3 separate regions of the Homo sapiens genome follow, and regions 2 and 3 are each linked to region 1. Evidence: promoter capture Hi-C in 16 types of primary human blood cells and fetal thymus (Javierre and others, 2016). All regions are on one chromosome and are shown on one strand. The core of a region is centred on a gene start or on the middle of the fragment in contact, and the rest is flanking DNA. Distances in the headings are between cores, read along the strand shown. Region 1 holds the start of THUMPD2 (THUMP domain 2 tRNA and snRNA guanosine methyltransferase). Region 2 overlaps MAP4K3 (mitogen-activated protein kinase kinase kinase kinase 3). Region 3 overlaps MAP4K3 (mitogen-activated protein kinase kinase kinase kinase 3).

Evidence for each region. The method cuts DNA at HindIII sites, captures the fragments that hold promoters and counts their contacts. A CHiCAGO score of 5 or more calls a contact.
Region 2: a fragment that was not itself captured here is called in contact with the fragment with the promoter of THUMPD2 in region 1 in 1 of 17 cell types (total B cells); the score reaches 5.1 in total B cells.
Region 3: a contact is called between a fragment that was not itself captured here and the fragment with the promoter of THUMPD2 in region 1, in 2 of 17 cell types (naive B cells and erythroblasts). The highest score is 6.5, in naive B cells.

The regions. Positions count from the first base shown.
Region 1 is chr2:39,777,975-39,780,674 of GRCh38, reverse strand. THUMPD2 (THUMP domain 2 tRNA and snRNA guanosine methyltransferase) reads left to right here and starts at 1,417. Exons shown (of 10, transcript NM_025264.5): 1 at 1,417-1,561. The coding sequence starts at 1,436. The HindIII fragment of the contact is 5,327 bases long and covers 1-2,700 here.
Region 2 is chr2:39,395,732-39,398,485 of GRCh38, reverse strand. The region is part of intron 1 of MAP4K3 (mitogen-activated protein kinase kinase kinase kinase 3); the gene reads left to right. Among named protein-coding and RNA genes, the nearest start is that of MAP4K3, 40 kb to the left of the region's middle. The HindIII fragment of the contact is 2,288 bases long and covers 305-2,592 here.
Region 3 is chr2:39,373,751-39,376,450 of GRCh38, reverse strand. The region is part of intron 2 of MAP4K3 (mitogen-activated protein kinase kinase kinase kinase 3); the gene reads left to right. Among named protein-coding and RNA genes, the nearest start is that of MAP4K3, 62 kb to the left of the region's middle. The HindIII fragment of the contact is 2,715 bases long and covers 1-2,659 here.

The sequences.
Region 1 (2,700 bases), core at 168-2,667:
CCAAAGTATAGAGAAGTTAAAATGAACTACGGCAGTAGCCCAGAAAAGGAAAACATGTGTCTGAGGGCAAGAAAAGAATTCATCAAAACGGTAGTGTGTGAGGGCTGGGTGCCTGTAATCCCAGCACTTTGGGAGGCCGAGGCAGGCGGATCGCTTGATCTCAGGAGTTCGAGACCAGCCTGGCCAACATGGTGAAACCCCTTCTCTACAAAAAATACAAAAATTAGCCCGGTGTGGTGGGGCTTGCCTGTGGTCCCAGCTACTGGACAGGCTGAGGTGGGAGGATTACTGGAGCTCAGGAGGTGGAGGCTGCAGTGAGCCAAGATCACGTCACTGCGCTCCAGCCTGGGCGACAGAGGGAGACCCTGTCGCAAAAAATAAAAAATAAAAAGCAGCATCAGAAGAGTCTTAGGACTGAACCTTGGAAAAGCTCATGTTATGTGACTCCATGAAGAATTTTTACTGTACGGCCCAGTAGAGCATGAGCTGGGTGGGGGCGGGGGTGTGTGTGGGAGTGTCGGGGGAGGTGAGGGAGTATCAGTTCTTCACCTTAACATCCCATTCTGAAGCACAGGACAGCCCCTTGTCAGAGACACACATGCATTTATCATTTCTGTATAACTGACTCAATATACAGCTACAGAGCTAATTTCACGCTGTTTATCTTGTAACATGGATTCTGTCTATGCTTCCCAAGTAATATTTTCATTTCCATTTTAAAATTCAGAGTTTAGAAAAATGCCTTCAAATACCGTTAGGAGAACCATTCAAATCAGGTGCCCAAAACTAGATGGCACATTGATTCATCTATGGCTGGATGGTTAACTAAGTAGTGCAAGAAATATGAGCTGTTTCAGAACGCAGACGTTTGTTAGAGAACAGGAACTTCTGCTCTCCGTCCTGGAGATTCCAACGTTTGGCCCGATTCTTTGTGAAAACAGACCAGGGCTCCTTCTATGAGAAGAGTAGAGGAGAGGAATGAAGGACAGGAAGAGGACGGAGTTGGGAGGAATGGAGGAAAAGGCATTATGTTAGATAGGGAGAAATCTAGGCTCCAGCCTCAGCTGTGCTGCTAACTCGCTGTCTCTTGACCTCTCTGGGCATTAATTTCCTCAATCTACAAAATAAGGCAACTGGACTGAATTATCAATTCTAACCCTTCCACCTGTGATTCTAACCCATTCTGGTGCCTAATCAAGGAGGGGACAGATGGTCAACCAGGAAGACCCATAGGGGCCACAGAGGGCTGATGCGACCCTCCCAGGCTCTCCGTCTCTCTCACCCTCTCCTTCCCCCTCCCTCTCCCCCTCCCCCTCTCCCTCTCCCTCTCCCTCTCCCCTTTGGCATCACACGCCCCTGCGCGCCGCCTCCAGGAGCGAGCCGCTCGCGCCCGAGGCCACGTGACCCGAAGGCGCGAGGGCGCGCCTGAGCCGCCATGTCGGAGGCGCGTGGAGAGCCAGGGTCCGGGCCTGAGGCTGGCGCCCGATTCTTCTGCACTGCGGGTCGCGGCCTGGAGCCGTTCGTAATGCGAGAGGTGCGGGCGCGGCTGGCGGCCACGCAGGTGAGTTGGCCTCGCTGCGCGCCTGGGGAGGTGGGCGGCCCTGTCCCTGCCCTGTTGCCCACCCCAGTCGTGGACGCGGGAAAGCGTCGCTGGCGCCCCTCTCTGTTCCACGCGACGGTCGCCGACCCCCGAGGTTGACTGGCAGGCGCTTCCGCTCCGGCCGAGAGAAGCCACCATTCCTTTCTTTCCTTGTATAGCAAATCCAGTTCCTCACTTCTCAGGGCTCAAGTTTTTAAGAGAGGTGTTGAGGCAAGTTATTTCCTGGATTCTTTAAAGTAGTAAGTAGTGCCTGTAATTAGAATCTGGCCTGTCAGAGTTAGAACCCTTCGCTCTTTAAATGCAAACATAATCTCCAAGTTCAGTTACCTGACTTTTTGTTAGTTTCTTGACAGTGATTGTATTTGACTACATAGGATTGTTGTGAGAATTAAATTATATAGCGTATGCAAAGTACACTTTAAACACGCAGTAAATAGCAGCCAGAAAAATAATATACTCTTGCAGGCCTCATAGTTATCTGTTATTGATTTCTGTGAAATGAACAAGGTTTTAAGCATCGGTTTAGGTTTTAGAATGTTGAAAACTGGTTTCTTGAAAGTAGGGGATGAAGGTATAATAGAAAAGGTATCTTGATGGGGTGTATGGGACACTGTGAGTGATGTACTCTTGGAAAAGGAGAGCTTCCTAAATGAAATTAACCCCTCCACCCTGGCAGCTCCTACAGTGTGGGAAGCCCACAAAAGGAGTTTCTGCAGTGAAAGGTTGGAGTCGTGAAGAATTATGTCAGTTTTGTTAGACTACCTGCCACTTGTGTTTTGGGTCACAGAATTTAATAGAGTATTGAATGTAGCTAATCTTAAAAAGCATCAATATATAATAACTACTGACATTTATTGAACATTTAATATGTGTCAGGCACATGTTCTTAGATCTTTACCCTATATTTATTTGCGTACTTTTCACAACAGCCCTATAAGGTAGGTGTTCCACATTTAACAGATGAGAAAAATGAAGCACAGGTAAGTCCGAGAATTTATTCAAGTCATGCAACTAGAAAATCGCAAAGATGGGATTCAAACCCGAGCTGGGAAATCAAGAATGAGTATATAATCATGTTCAAACCAGGCCCACTATATGAC
Region 2 (2,754 bases), core at 199-2,698, 380 kb after region 1:
GTTCATTTTATGTATTACTAACTGTATTTTTATTAATTTTTGTTAATTTCTGTTTATTCCTTTAGACTTTATGCAAAAGGCTAATTCACACTAATACTTTGCACCCTGGTTTCTTTATTTTTATTCCATGGAGCTCTCTCGTTATATCAGTCAGTATATAAAGACCTTCCTTATCTTTTTTTTTCTTTTTTTACTATATAGTATTCGTTTGTTGGTATATGCTGTAGTTAATTCAGCCAGTCCTTTTGCACTTGAATTTGTTCAGTCTTTTGCTATTAACAGGCAATTTCATACTGATTAAGCTTGTACATGTGTATTTCTTATGTATGTAGGTTTCGTGATGGTTTCGTTTCCTAGAAGGGTGTTTGCTAGGTGAAAGGGTACATGCGTCTGTAATTTTGATTGATATTATTGGATTCCCTGTATATATATCTTGCATTTTGCATTTCAGCAGCAATATATGAGGGTCCTTGGAATGCCCCCCCTTTCCCTACAGCTTGACAAGTGGTTGGACTTAAATCAGATTTTGCCAATCTGATAAGAAACACTATCTCACTGTATATTTTTTGTTTGCATTTCTGTTTTCAGCTTATCATATATTCAAGGGCCATTTGTATTTCTTTTCTTTTTCACATACTTGTCCATTTTTTCATTGGATTATCTCCTCTGTTTCTAAGAATTCTTTATATGGGTGTATTTCCGGACTTTGTATTTTGTCCCACTGGTCTGTCTATTCATTTGCCACTCGTATACTTTTAGTTCTTGAGGCCATATAAAGTTATATTGTTAGAGCTGTTTTCTCATTGCTCTTCATTTTCAGAGTTTTCCTGGCAATTACTGCTTGTTTATTTTTCAATAAGATCTTTAGAATCAGCCTTTCTAGTTCCTGGAGGAAAAAAATTGATACTTTTATTGGGTTTGTATGAATTTTAATATCTTAAGAAGAGTTGATACCTTTATGATGTTTAGCCTCTCTAAGAATATGATTATAACTTTCTCTTCATTCAATTCTACTTTCATTTCTTTAAAGGTTTTTGAAGTTTTCTTTAAGTTTGCACATTTGTGATTAAGTGAAAATATACAAATATTTAGTTGCTATTGGAAATGAAGTCTTTATTTTTGCTGTTGTTTGTATTATAATATGTTGTATATATGAAGATTATTGATCTTTGTATATTCTTTTCATAGGTTACTATCTTACTGAATTCTCTTATGTTTGTAGTCACTAATTCTTAATATTGTTTTAAAGCACATTTTATGGAGTTGGTGAGTACTATATAGGATTTTTTTTTAGTACCAAAGTCTTGGTTGAGAGACATTACACTATCCATTTTTACTGGTTTAGATATGTAGCATGATGAACCTCAGCAAGTTTAAAAAGAATCATTTCTTTATTTTGACTTGAAATTTCAAGTTTTTAAATTGATGAAAAGTTGTCATTTATTGTGGCAGGGGTGATGTGAAATCCAGCCACTTATTGGTATGTGTTACAACTTAGCTAAGTCCAGTAATAGTCAGTACATACTACTAAATGATTCAAAAGCAAATGGTCTTTTAGATCAAGTAATAGATCTCTTAAATTGAGATGTATTTACCTTAGATAGTAAGAATGACTCTTTGGTCTCTTATAAGAGGTGAAGAGAGATGCTGTTTCTGGGCTAGTATTTTTGCTAAAATGGTTTTATGAAAAACTTTCATAAGTTAAAAATTTGGGGCTGGGCGCGGTGGCTCACGTCTGTAATCCCAGCACTTTGGGAGGCCGAGGCGGGCGGATCACAAGGTCAGGAGATCGAGACCATCCTGATTAACAGGGTGAAACCCCGTCTGTACTAAAAATACGAAAAATTAGCCGGGCGTAGTGGCGGGCGCCTGTAGTCCCAGCTACTTGGGAGGCTGAGGCAGGAGAATGGCGTGAACCCAGGAGGCGGAGCTTGCAATGAGCCAAGCCATTGCACTCCAGCCTGGGCGACAAAGTGAGACTCTGCTTAAAAAAAAAAAAAAAAAAAATTGGGGGCTTGAAGTTAAAGCACATTGTCTTGAGTAAAAGATATTGGTAGAAGTTCAGAAATGTAAACTGAATTGTCTTTTATCTTATTTTACCTAAGTGGACTATGGAATATTAAGCTATTGGTATACAAATACTTGTAGGCCGGGTGCAGTGGCTCACCTATAATCCCAACACTTCATGAGGTCGAGGTGGGAGGATCACTTGAGGTCAGGAGTTTGAGACCAGCCTGAGCAACATCGTGAGACCCCATTTCTACATTAAAAAATTTAAAAATTAGCCAGGTGTGGTGGTGCATGCCTGTAGTTCCAACTGCTCCGGAGTCCGAGGCAGGAAGATTGTTTGAGCCCAGGAGTTAAGAGGCTGCAGTGAGCTATGATGATGCCACTACATTCCAGCTGGTGCAACAGAGTGAGATCTTGTCTCAAAACAAACAGACAAACAAAAAACCCCAAAAACCAAACCTGTATTTCCCTTCCCCTTTTCCTGATATTTTAATATTTAAGTATACATATATTCTACATAATGAATACTGTATCTATCATCCTGAACTTTTTAACAGCTCTAGTCTTTTGTATACTGAAGCTTTCAGGCTTCAAATAAAGCATACATATCAAAATATTTTGAAGAGTAATTGAAATCTCAGTTTCTCCCCCTCCTTTTAACTAAACAGATGGAAAGAATTATTTGATAGTGTTTTCCAGAGCCCTTTATAATGTAGCATATTTGAGTGTCTGATTCTTTGAATA
Region 3 (2,700 bases), core at 53-2,552, 400 kb after region 1:
GTCTTGGACACTGCCATGTGTATATTGATCAATGTAATAAAAGTAGAATATACAACTATACAAAAGGAAAAAAATAAAAATCATTCATATTCTGCCACCCAGAGAAAACAAAGGTTAATCACCATAAATATGTTTCCTCTATTACAGCTACCCATTTCCCCCCGCCACCAGTTATTTTGATCCCTCAATCATAAAATTCCAGCCCATAGTATTTCTGTGTATATGCCTAAAGTATAAATACTCAAAAAGTGTAATCACAAACAGGAACCCTCATACACAGCTGGTGGAAATGTAAAATGGTGCAACCACTTTGGAAAACAGTTTGTCACTTCCTTAAAGTGTTAAACATAAATTTGCCATAATGACCCAGCAATTCTACTCTTGCATATCTGCCGACACAATGATTGTCATGCACAAATGTTTATAGTAGCATTATTCACAGTATGTCTCAAAATTGGAAACAGTCTAACTGCCCATCAACTGGTGAATGAATATGTTGTGTTCATACAATTGAATACTATTCAACAATAAAAACAAGTTGCTGATAGCATGCTGTAACATAGGTGACCAAAACGTGCTAAGTGAAAGGAGCTAGACACACAAAACTGCATACTGTATGATTCCATGTGAAAGGTTCAGAAAAGGCAAATCTGTGGTGTCAGAAAGTTAATCTGGTGAGCTGGGGACGAGGTGGACTAACAATTATTGTACGTGAAGGGTCTTATGGGAATAATCTAGTGATGGTTGTACAACTTGGTAAATTTACTAAAAGCACCATTGAATTATACACTTGAAATTGCTGAACTATCCAATTTAAACGTATGCCTTAATAAAATTATTAAAGATACGTAACTACAACCATTAACAACATTACAGTTCTTTATTAATAAGACCTACGCTTAGCAAATAGTTGCTACGTTATATCTATAGGTTCCCACTTAATTTCTTTTTATCTTTTTTCCTTGTAATTTTCTGTGGAAGTAACTCGATCATTTATCCTGTAAAGTTCCCCCCCAGTCCAGATTTTGCTGATTGCCTTGTTGTAGCATCATGTAATATATTCTTTGGTGACTTGATAGATATCTCTAGAGAACTGAGTAGACTCCGGTTTTATTTGGGGTATGGAGGAGGGAACTACTTCACGAGTGGTGTTACGCTCACATTTTTCTAAGGTAGAGGGGTGTGTGTGTGTTTAAGAGACAGTGTCACTGTAGCCCAGGCTGGAGTGCAGTGGTAGGATCGTGGCTCACTGCAGTCTTGATCTCCTGGGCTCATGGTATACTTCTACCTCAGTCTCCCAAGTAGCTAGGACTGCAGGCGTATGACATGACACCCAGCTAATTTTTATTTTTTGTAGAGACAGGGTCTCACTATATTGCCCAGTTTGCTCTTGAATACCTGGTCTCAAGAGACCTCTCACCTCGGCCTTCCAAACTGCTAGGATTACAAGCATGAGCCACTATGTCTGGCCTAAATTAGAGTTTTTGATGGCTAGTCTTCCATTTTTTGGAAACAAAAATTAAGTCTGAAATAGTCTAGTGCAACATGTTGGATTTTAAGAATTTCTGTCTAGAGTTTGTTCCTTTTTCCTTTTTTTACAGCTGATAAGCAATTTGAACCTGAAGCAAAATAAAAACTTACGCAGACCTTTTGACCAAATTGTTTAAATGTGAAGTTACTCCAAGGTGTCTGACTGTTGCTTCTCATCTTAATTATGCAGCTTTAAATTTAAAAAATTTAAAAAATTTTGTTTAATTTTTTTTTAATTTGTGATGGAGTCTTGCTCTGTTGCCCAGGCTGGAGTGCAGTGGCCCGATCTCAGCTTACTGCAACCTCTGCCTCCCAGGTTCAAGTGATTCTCCTGCCTCAGCTGCCCGAGTAGCTGGGATTACAGGGGTGCACCACCACGCCCGGCTAATTTTTGTATTTTTAGTAGAGACGGGGTTTCACTGTGTTGGGCAGGCTGGTATTGAATTCCTGACCTCAGGTGATCCACCCGCCTCTGCCTCCCAAAGTGCTGGGTTAACAAGCGTGAACCACCGAACCTGGCCTAATTTATTTTTAATTTTAATTTTTATTTTTTATTGTTTTGAGATAGAGTCTCGCTCTGTCACCCAGGCAGTGGTGTGATCTTGGCTCACTGCAACCTCCGCCTCCGGGTTCAAGCAATCTTCATGAATAGCTGGAATTACAGGCATGCACCACCATGCCTGGCTAATTTTTGTATTTTTAGTAGAGACAAGGTTTCATCCTGTTGGCCATGATGGCCTCAAACTCCTGGCATCAAGTGATCCGCCTGCCTGGGCCTCCCAAAGTACTGGGATTACAGATGTGAGCCATTTTTAATTTTCGTGGGTACATAGTAGGCATATATATTTCTGGGTTACATGAGCTATTTTGATACAGACACGCAATGCATAATAATCACACCAGGGTAGATGGATATCTGTCATCTCAAGTATTTATCCTTTGTGTTTCAAACAGACCAGTTATACTCTTCCAGTTATTTTAAAATGTATGATTGGATTTTTTGTTGTTGTTGTTACTAAAGTCACCCTGTTGTGCTTGCAAATACTAGGGCTTATTCATTCTTTCTAATTTTTTGTACCAATTAACCATCTCCAAATCCCTTCTACCCCCCCACCAAGCCCTGTAAGCTTCCCAGCCTATGGTAACCATGCTTCTACTCTCTATCTCCTT